Regions from separate parts of the Homo sapiens genome. Here region 2 is linked to region 1. The links are contacts of gene promoters, found by promoter capture Hi-C in blood cells and fetal thymus (Javierre and others, 2016). All regions are on one chromosome and are shown on one strand. Each heading gives the region's core, a stretch centred on a gene start or on the middle of the fragment in contact. The rest is flanking DNA. Distances are from core to core; before and after follow the strand shown.

What was found. Contacts are between HindIII fragments. The CHiCAGO score rates a contact against its expected background, and 5 or more counts as called.
Region 2: a fragment that was not itself captured here is called in contact with the fragment with the promoter of NIT2 in region 1 in 1 of 17 cell types (megakaryocytes); the score reaches 5.3 in megakaryocytes.

Annotation. Positions count from the first base shown.
Region 1 is chr3:100,330,757-100,336,006 of GRCh38, reverse strand. It overlaps NIT2 (nitrilase family member 2), which reads right to left and starts at 1,250. Exons shown (of 10, transcript NM_020202.5): 1 at 1,209-1,250. The coding sequence starts at 1,215. RefSeq lists silencers at 228-522, 921-1,250 and enhancers at 491-570, 691-750, 771-820, 914-1,482. The HindIII fragment of the contact is 2,232 bases long and covers 390-2,621 here.
Region 2 is chr3:100,625,721-100,630,970 of GRCh38, reverse strand. ADGRG7 (adhesion G protein-coupled receptor G7) reads right to left here. Exons shown (of 16, transcript NM_032787.3): 2 at 1,260-1,373; 3 at 162-266. Among named protein-coding and RNA genes, the nearest start is that of ADGRG7, 19 kb to the right of the region's middle. The HindIII fragment of the contact is 3,882 bases long and covers 1,191-5,072 here.

The DNA.
Region 1 (5,250 bases), core at 1-2,500:
GGCAAACAGATATTTTGAGCTGTTATCAGAACAGCAGATAAATCCACTAAACGTCTCCCCTCCATTTCCCAGCGTTAAGCCATTCTCCCTCCTCAGCTTCCCAAGTAGTTTGGGACTAAAGGGGCGTGCCACCACACCGGGCTAATTTTGTATTTTTTAGTACAGACAAGGTGTCGCCATGTTGCCCAGGCTGGTCTCCAACTCTTGACTCGTGAACTCAAGCGATCCTCGTGCCTCAGCTTCCCAAACTGTTGGGATTACAGGCGTGAGCCACGTGCCGGGCCATGTCTGTGCTTCCGAGGGTGGGAAAGATAAAGCTCACCATGGCTACGCTGATGGCTTCCTCTCCTACACATCTCACCCACAAGGGCGGGGTCCTCAACTAAGCTTAGGACTGCCTATCATTCTGCAAATGACCCACTCTACAGACATGCTGCAGCAGGGAAACCCCGCCACTGGGCAGTTCCTCATGCTGAGGAGGAGACGCCCGTCACTCCATCTCATCTGTAAAGTGAAGACTTTTAAGGCTGCCCTAATATTCATCATAATCTAACAACGAAGACCTTACCAAGGGGCGGAAAAAAAGAATAAAATACTGTGAGCGAAGGAAACAACAAAGGAATAACATTTAAAGCAATGTGCCAGGTCCTTCACACATTAACATCATTGTGTGAGGTATCATTAACATCATTTTACAAATAAAGAAACAGGGGACTTGCAGGGGGAAAGCTGCACAAAGTCACTGAACAAAGTAAGTGACACAGCAAGAATCCAAGTCAAAATCTGGAGCTGGAAAGTGAGTGGGGAGACGAAGAACCGCCTGGGCACCTTTGTGCAGGGCGGGGCTGGAGGAGGTCACGCAACTTGAAAACACCCAAGGGAGTTGGATCCTACCACCGCGGCCCACACCGTGGAGAAATACACGTCCATCAGCCTCTGTCAAGCAGGACGCGGCGGGTGCCGGCGCGGCCGGGTGGCCTGGTGCTTTCTGGGCCTCGCCCGCCACCCCGGAAGCCTGGAATCCCGGGAGTGCGCCCGGCCGCCCGGCCACGCGATCCCGGACCCACGCGGACGCCCGCCTCAGGGAAGGCCGCGCACGGCGGGGACGCGGGGCGGAGGGGCTGAGCCGGCCGAGCCACCGCCGGCGCCGCTCCAAAGCCTCCCCCGCGGCCCGAACTCGAGCTGCAGCGCGCGGCCGCGCCACTTACAGGTCATGACTCTGCAGACAAGCACCACCTGCGGCGCGGACTGAGCGCTGGAGATCCGGCGGACCGCGGCGTCGCTACGGTGGGGCGGGGACCGCGTCAGAGGCCCCGCCCCACCCCTCCTCCTGGCCCCGGCCGGGAGGAGAGAAGGGTCTGCGTTCATTCCAGTGCGCCTGTAACACCAGGACGGACCAACGAGAAATGGTTAATTGCAACACAGTCCGGAAAAAGCATGCCTCGAAAGGCAAAGGGCAAAAGGGAACGGCCTAAGTCGAGGTGGTGTGCTGGTGAATGTCTTAACAACCAGACTTTTCAGGGAGGAAAGCCCTGATTTGTAGCGTTTGCTGATTCTCCGCAAAAGGACTGAACTTCTAGCTGGTTGAATCACCTCTGTGGCCAGGTTAACACCGTATGCTGATGGGCTTGAGCTATTTGAACAAGTCTCTGTGACGGGGACGGAATGACCCTGGTTGGTTTAGGCACGCGAGACGTCTGTAAAATCTGACTACAAGGCTGCTAGGCCAACGGGAAAGATGCTGAGGGTTCAACGCCATGCCCTCAACAAGTCAGTCCTCGAATACATTGTCATCTCTTTGCTAATATCCTTTTTTGTTTGTTTGTTTTAGACAGGGTCTCACTCTGTCATCCAGTCAGGAGTGCAGTGCAGCAGTCTCAGCCCATTGCAGCCTCAACCTCCCGGCTCAAGCGATCCTCCGTCCTCAGCCTCCCAAGTAGCTGGGACTACAGGCACACACCACCACACCTAGCTATTTCTTTTCCTTTTTTCTTTTTCTTTCTTTCTTTCTTTTTTTTTTTTTTTTAAGTTTTTTACTTTTAATAGAGGTGGGGCCTTGCTATTTTGCCCAGGCTGGTCTCAAACTCCTGAGCTCAAGACCCTACTGCCTTAGCCTCCCAAAGTGCTGGAATTATAGGCGTGAGCTGCTGCGCCCAGCCTATAGACTATGATTTTTGCATTTTTATTTATTAGATTGCTTTTTAATTTTCGTGTTTTGTGTTTTTGTGCCTTGTCAGACTTGTGGAACAAAAATCCAAAACTTAACCACCTTTTGGAATGCCCCAGAATAGTTTATACTGAAACAGATCTTGGTTTGTAAAAGAACACTATAAAAACATTTTGGGGGCAACTAGGGAGATTTAAATATGAACGAGATATTTGATGCTTTTCTGAATTATTTTGTGTGCTATAGTGTTGTGCTTGTGACAATTCTTTACTCTTAGAAAATGAGGAAGTATTAGGGATGAACCATCAGAATGTTTGACTTGAAAATCGTCAGCAAAAAGAAAACACATAAGATAAAGCAAATATGGCAAAATGTTAATTATTAAATCTAGGAGGAGGACACAGCTGTTCATGGTACTAGATTAAAACTTTGTAGAAGTTTAAAATTTTAAGCTTTCATAAAAAAAAATTGGGGGGAAATACATAGCAGTTATGGTCTTTCTGCAGCTTAAGAGACTATCTGGACTTGGCTTTGTAGCAGGAAGATCTTTAAAAACCTTTTCATTTCTGCTATGCTTATTAACCTATGAGGTTTCAGGGTCAACCTGTGGTCACTTACAACCTGTTAAAAAAATTCATCTAGATTTCCAAATTTATTGGACTAACATTGTAACTAATAGTGGTCCTAAACCTGGCTGGAAATGTTATTTGAAGTGCTTGTTCAAAATGCAAATTATTTCATTTTTTTAGAAGTGGATTCTTACAGTGTTGCCCAGGCTGGTCTCAAACTCCTAGGCTCAAGTGATCCTCCCACTTTGGCTTCAAAAAGTGCTGGCCTTATAGGCATGAGCCATGGCATCCAGGTGGAGATGCCCAGTAGGCAACCGGACCAAAGCCTCAAGCTCAGAAGATGTCTGGGCTGGAAATTGACTTGGGAGTCACCAGCAGTTTTAACTAAGAGGAAGCTCTGAATTTGGATGAGAACACACAAGCGGAGTATGAAAGGCACACGCAAAAGAAGAAGGGCCTGTGGAGCCTGGGAAGGAGCCATTAGAGGAGAAGGACCAGGCCGGGCGCCACTGCCTGGTGGAGGAACAGCTGTGTCCTCCTCCTAGATTTAATAATTAACATAATCCCAGCACTTCAGGAGGTGGAGGCAGGTGGATCAAGAGGTCAGGAGCTCGAGACCAGCCTGACCAGCATGGTGAAACCCCGTCTCTACTAAAAATGCAAAAATTAGCTGGGCGTGGTGGCACACACCTGTAATCCCAGCTACTCAGGAGGCTGAGACAGCAGAATCACTTGAACCTGGGAGGCGAATGTTGCGGTGAGCCGAGATTGTGCCACTGCACACCAGCCTGGGTGACAGAGCCAGACTCCATTAAAAAAAAAAAGAGAGAGAGAGAAGCAGGACCAGGAGAAGGCCATCAAGACCAAAAGCCTATGGGTACTGTGTCCCTCTGTCACATGCAGGGAAACTGCTGACTTGGGCACTAGGGGTGTTCCTAGAAAAGGAAAAGCTAAATGAAAGTGCGCTTTTTAAACCTTTCTTTAGAACTTTCTGGGCACAATGGAAAAGCTAGTCACTGGGTTCTGGTTCTGGCTCTGACACTGATTAGATGTTAATACCTAGGGCAAATCACCTCACCCTCAGGACCTTTTCCTCACCTGTATGTGAAAGGATTTAGAGGCAAAGGAAGAAGAATCTGGCTGAAGGGTGAAGTTTGTGCAGCCCTCCCCACCACCACTCCCCTCACTGTCCCTTCTCTGCAGCAGCTCTGCCTTCGTTTCCATGTTCCTGTTCATCTGACGTATGAAAATAGGCCAAAAAACAAAACTACCAGGCCAAATGGATCTTGAAAGCCCAGCTAAAAATCTGGTGTGCCTTTTCAGTCTCTATTCTCATTTCTACCCATGTCTCACAGGCTTAATGACCATTTCCAGGCTGTTACTAGTCAGATTTTTATTTTTACTCCAGAGGACCTATTTCAACATCTCCGGCTGCCGCCATCTCTATTTACATGTCTCAACATCAGTTCCAACTCAACTATGTGAAACTAAATGTATCACCTCCAAAAGAGCTTCTCCACCCAGCACTTACAGGCACCACAATTTATGCCCAGTTTTCTAATTCTCCCTGCTTTCCAGCCCTCCAAGAAAACCTAAGTCACTTCAGTGACTTTCGAGTCTTTCATTCCCCACCTCTGGTAAGGGACAGGGCTCTTCTTACTCTCAGGAAATGTCCCTGATTCCTCCTTTCAGTTCCCACCACCACCGTCCACAGGTAGGCCTTCCTCACCTTGGGGAGACTGCTACAGGCACTTCCTAACTGGTCTCTCCTTTCCATCAGCATTCCTCCAGCTGCCGCTTCATAGTATGAGGTGAGTCTAGGGGAACGTGAGCTCAGTTTTTGGGGGAGAGGTGGATATGTGTTCCAGGAAAACTCTCCGTGTTTTTCCTCTGCTCTTACATCACCACCACAACAATCATCATCACAGAAGAATTCTGGGACCAAATGTGAGGGGGTTCCTCCCTACCACCAAGCAGCGGACACCAGCTGGGTATCCTCCTATTCAATTCCAACACTGTCTACCTGAGGAAGACACACCGGCACCAGTCATATGTCTTGGACTCCAGAACTTCTGACCAACCACTTTCAAGTTGGGGTTGCCATGATCCCATCTTTGGGTTTGAATAACTTGCTGGAGCAGCTCACAGAACTCATGGAAACATGTTTCCTGGTTTATTATAAAGGATGTTGCAAAGGCTACAAGGAAGAGATGTGTAGGGCAAAGTATGGGAGGAGGGGCACAAAGCTTCCATGCCCTCCAGAACCTCCACGAACGTGGTCAGCTATCTAGAAGCTCTCCAAACCCAGTTCTATTGGCCTTTATGGGAACTTTATGTTATCAGCATTCCTTCCTCCAAGGGATGGGGCAGGAGCTCTCAGGAGGTATTTAAGACCCACAATCAGCAAGATTAGAGTTCTGCCTTGGGGCAGGTGAAAGGAGAGCAGGAGAGGCCAGAGAGATTCTGTTTCCTGAGGCCTGCCCCTGAGGCCTAACACAACTGGCATTATAACAA
Region 2 (5,250 bases), core at 1,882-4,381, 290 kb before region 1:
TACCTTAAGTTTTGAACATTAGCATCACGAAAGGGAGTTAAGTCCTTCCACAAAACCTTTCCTGATGCCCTTCAGGGACCTAACACTAGTAGGAGGTATGAGAGGTATGACTCAGCATAGTAATTCTTATGCATAGAGTAAATGTTTGGGAAAACACATACCATTTGGAGTATCCTTGCCACATGTTTGCAAGGATGGTCCATATCTGCCCACTGGGATTCTGGCAAAAGTAAAACCCATATAGGTACTATTTTCACAAAAATTAGCTGTAATAAAGAGAAAAAGTTCTTTATTATAAATTGTATTTTAAAAAAATTGAAACCAGATAAAAGTCAAAGGTCAGAACCTATGCAGTGAAATTTGAAAGGCAATAGAAGGCTTATAGAACCCACTGGCCTGTGAGGAACTTCTATACTTTGCTATCTGGTTAAGTCATTGCCGTTAGAATAACTAGTATGTTAGACAACAGGTTCCAGTTAAAATGTGCACAATATAAACCTGGGTAGAGAGGGAATGTGAGCTAGGATACTGTAACAGATTAGTTGGAATCTTCAGAACTAAAAATATAGAGCCTATAGTGGTCAACGGTACCATGAGGATGTGGGCAAAGCAAAAAGGCAAATTCATGGGATCTGTGGGATATATTGACTGGTAGGAGTATAGGAAATGATAGCAGTGGATATCTAGGGCTCTGAACCCTAAGCAGACAGCATGAAGTGTACGGTGTTGGGAAGCACACCTCAAATTTAAAAATGGCCTTGAACTTTGATTCTGAGACACAATTGATTGAAATCAAACCACTAACTTAATAACAACTCTTCAAGGTAGAGGAAGAAAAGATAAAAATTTAATATAAGTATATACTCAGGAAGATGCATATTGATTTCAGAAAAGTTAAATATATTAGAGTAGTGATATTTGAAATGGTATATTATGGCATATTACCAATTGAAAGGACCTGAGAGAATCATGTCATTCATTGCCCTGGATTAGTCATTGCAGCCAGGAAACACGACTGTGAGTTTGCAAAAAAACTTAGTAGTCAGGAAACAGATAAGGTGCATTGAATATACTGATAAATTGGCCAAGAAGAAAACTCAGCTTTTACTATTGAGCTGATAAACACATCCTAAAGCCATCATCATTATGTCCATTGTTTCTGTAACCATTAACTGAAGCTTCTAGAAGCTTTATTGCTATTCTTATTAACACAAGAGTGACGTAAACCTTACACTTTAGCATTATCCCAAGTAATTTACCAATTGTACATCTCAGTCCTTTCCACTCTTCTGTACAAATACATCTGCCATTTTCCCAGGTTCCACCATTCCTGCAGAACTCTGTAGGGGTGCTTGATGAGGAAGTAGATTTTCCTAAAGAAACAATAAATAACAGAATAGTCATGAACTGGCTGATTCATTTCTCCTTTCATGCCTGTGGCCACTTAATTTCTACACGTAAAACCACTGCTTTGAGTATCATTGCTGAGAAATATTCTTTGTAATATCATCATTAATAAAATATACACTGAGAATCTACACTAGATGTACAATGCTTACTAGATGCTATGGATACCAGAAAGATGTAGTTGAAAGACATAATACTTTGACCAAGGAGATTAGAATCCCCTGAGAAATCAGAAATTATATAGATGGTAAGTAGATAGATAGATAGATAGATAGATAGATAGATAGATAGATAGAGTCAACATGGAGGCTTATAAGTACAGTAAAAACACATAGGAGAGAGGTTGATGACAGAGGTAACCTAGCCAAGAAGACCCGGTAAGAGATAGTATGTGGACTGGATTTTAAAATTACATCTTGAAAAACCAGATGAAAATGGGTGACCCGAGTAGGCAGGATACGAACTGCAAAAATCACAAAAACATGGAAAGTTCTGATGTGTCTAAGGAACAGAGAAGAATTTAACATCAGCATTGGTTCTATGTGGAACAACATCAGGACATAGATTCAATTGGAAGGGACTTTATAAACCAAACCAAGAAGATTTAATCTTGAAGGAACCTTAGAGGGGTCATAAAACAAAGGAGTAACATAAGGAATTATTTTTAGGAGGATAAGTGAAGGAGTATGGGAAATGACTGAGGCTAAGGGGGAAGGAAAACCAGTTAAATGAGAACTAGAACTCAAGCAGTGACTCTAAGAAAGTTAGGTGTCACTAGGTTCAGGAAGCATACCTGAGAAAGAATTGTTAGGATCTAATGACTAGTTATTTTGAGTTGGGGATAGCAGAGTTTCTAAATTGTAAAACAGAGTGAAAGGTGAACAAATTAACTAAGTGGAAGAATACAGGGTTGTGTGCAGTGGCTCACACCTCTAATCCCAACACTTTGGGAGGCTGAGGTGGGCGGATCACTTGAGGTCAGGAGTTCGAGACCAGCCTGAGCAATATGGTGAAACCGCATCTCTACTAAAAATACAATTAACCTGGTGTGGTGGTGCCTGCCTGTAGTCCCAGTTACTTGGGAGGCTGAGGCACGAGAATCACTTGAACCTGGGAGGCGGAGGTTGCAGTGAGTTGAGATCACACCACTGCATCCAGCCTGGGTGACACAGTAATCTCAAAAAAAAAACAAAAAAAACAAGTGGCAGAGTTCTAGTTTCAATAATGATGGAATAGATTGTACCATATTAACCCTCTCATAGATAACAATGGTAATAATTGCACAAACGTTTTTAAAAAAAAAACTACTTGAAGGCATTGGACAGCAATGAAAAACAGGCAGAAACTGAAAGGTATTCGAAGTCTCTATAGTATTTCCACTAAGGGCACTACCCAGTCTCTATGGCAGAAGTGGCTGAAACTTGATCAGAAAGCCAGTCTTAATGGGTTAAGGTATGACAGGAAACTCTTTGGGGTTGCAAGAACAACTGGAAATTGAAGGTAGATATCCCAGAATAAAAGGAGCCATATAGAAAAGAAACTCAAAGTTTGTGTAGAAATTACTCTCAAATCCAGGGAGAAAAAAGATTTAAAAAAATAAACAGAGCTTCAAGAATCTGTGGGACAATATCAACATATTGTCTAACATATAAGCAATTGGAGTCCTAGAAGGGGAAAAGAGAAGGAATAGGGAAGATAAAATATCAGAAGAAATCATGTCAAAATTTCCCAAATTTTGTTAAGAACTTCAGCTTATAGATCCAAGAGGCTCAGAAGAATCACAAGAAAAACAAATGCAAGAAAAACCATGCATAGACACTTCACAGTCAGTCAAACTGCTGAAACTCAAAGATAAGGAGAAAATCCTGAAAGTATCCAACTGCCAGCCCAGATAGTTTTACTCGTAAATTAGAAAAGAAATAACACCAATCTCATACAAACTCTTTTAGAAAATAAAGAAATGAAGAAACTTCCCAAATCATTTCATAATGCCAGCATAACCCTTATACCAAAATCTGACAAAGACATTACAAGAAAATAAAGTTACAGGCCAATAAATCACGTTTACACAGATGCCAAAAAAATCCTTTAAAAATAGCAGGAAGTCAAATCTCTCAACATATAAAACTAATAATACATCATGACCAAGTGAGATTTATCCCAGGGATGCAAGGTTAGGTTGGCAATCAATAGAAAATCAATTAATTTAATTAATCATATGATAGAATAAAGGAGATAAACTTCACGATCATCTCAATAAATGCAGGAGACAAAAAGCATCTCACTTTTTTTAAACTCTCAGCAAACGAGAAATAAAACAGAACATCTTCAAACTGATAAAATCACCTGTGAAGAACCTACTACAAATATCATACTTAACAGTGTAATATTGAATACTGTCTCTCCTAAGACTGACAAAAACACAGTTCAATATAATTGCTATAACCACTTCGATTCAACATGGTGCTGAAGATGCTAGCAGTGCAATACGCAGGAAAAAGAAACAAAAGTGTAAAATTAAGAAGGAATTGCAGATGATATCATCAAATATATGAAATGCTAAGATATCTCCAAAAAGTTACTATAATTAATAAGTGAATTTAGCAAGACTGCATGACATAAAATAAAGACATTTTCACATATTAGCAACAAACAATTGAAATATAAAAGCATAAATCATTTTCATTTAAAATAGCATCAAAAATTATAAAATTCTTGGAAATAAATCTAACAAAATTTACTTAACAAGATCTCATTGTTCAGATAATTTTTTTTTCTTTTGACGGAGTCTTGCTCTGTTGCCTAGGCTGGAGTGCAGTGGCACAATCTCGGCTCACTGCAACCTCTGACTCCTGGGTTCAAGCGATTCTTCTACCTCAGCCTCCCGAGTAGCTGGGACTACGGGCACATGCCACCATGCCCAGCTAATTTTTGTATTTGTAGTAGAGATGGGGTTTCACCATATTAGCTAGGCTGGTCTCGAACTCCTGACCTCACGATCCGCCCACCTTGGCCTCCCAAAGTGCTGGGATTACAGGCATGAGCCACCATGCCTGACCCCGTTCAAATAAATTTTAAAAGATCTAAATAAATGGAGATATATACCTTGTATGGATGGAAGATTCAAAGTTGCTAAGGTGTCTATTCTCCCCAAATTGATACAGTCAAAATCCATAAATGAAAGTTTTTTTATAGAAATTAACAAGCGGATTTAAAATATTTATGGAAATGCAAAACACTTAGAAAGGCCAAAAAGAAGAACAACTCTATGCAAATAAACTAGAAAATCTAGAAGAAATGGATAAATTCCTGGACACATACACCCTCACAAGACTAAAACAAGAAGCCAAATCCCTGAATAGGTCAATAACGAGCTCTGAAATTGAGGCAGTAATTACTAGCCTACCAACCAAAAAAAGCCCAGGACCACACGGATTCACAGAGCTGCATTCTACCAGAGATACCAAGAGGAGCTGGTACCTTTCCTTGTGAAACTATTCCAAACAATTGAAAAAGAGGGACTCCTCCCTAGCTCATTTTATGAAGCCAGCATCATCCTGATAACAAAACCTGGCAGAGACACAAACACACAAAAGAAAACTTCAGGCTGATATCCCTGATGCACATCGATGCAAAAACCGAATCCAGCAGCACATCAAAAAGCTTATCCACCACGATCAAGTTGGCTTCATCCCTAGGATGCAATGCTGGTTCAACATATGCAAATCAATAAATGTAATCCATCACATAAACAGAACCAATGACAAAAACCACATGATCACCTCAATAGATGCAGAAAAGGACTTCAATAAAAATTCAACATCCCTTCATGTTAAAAATTGT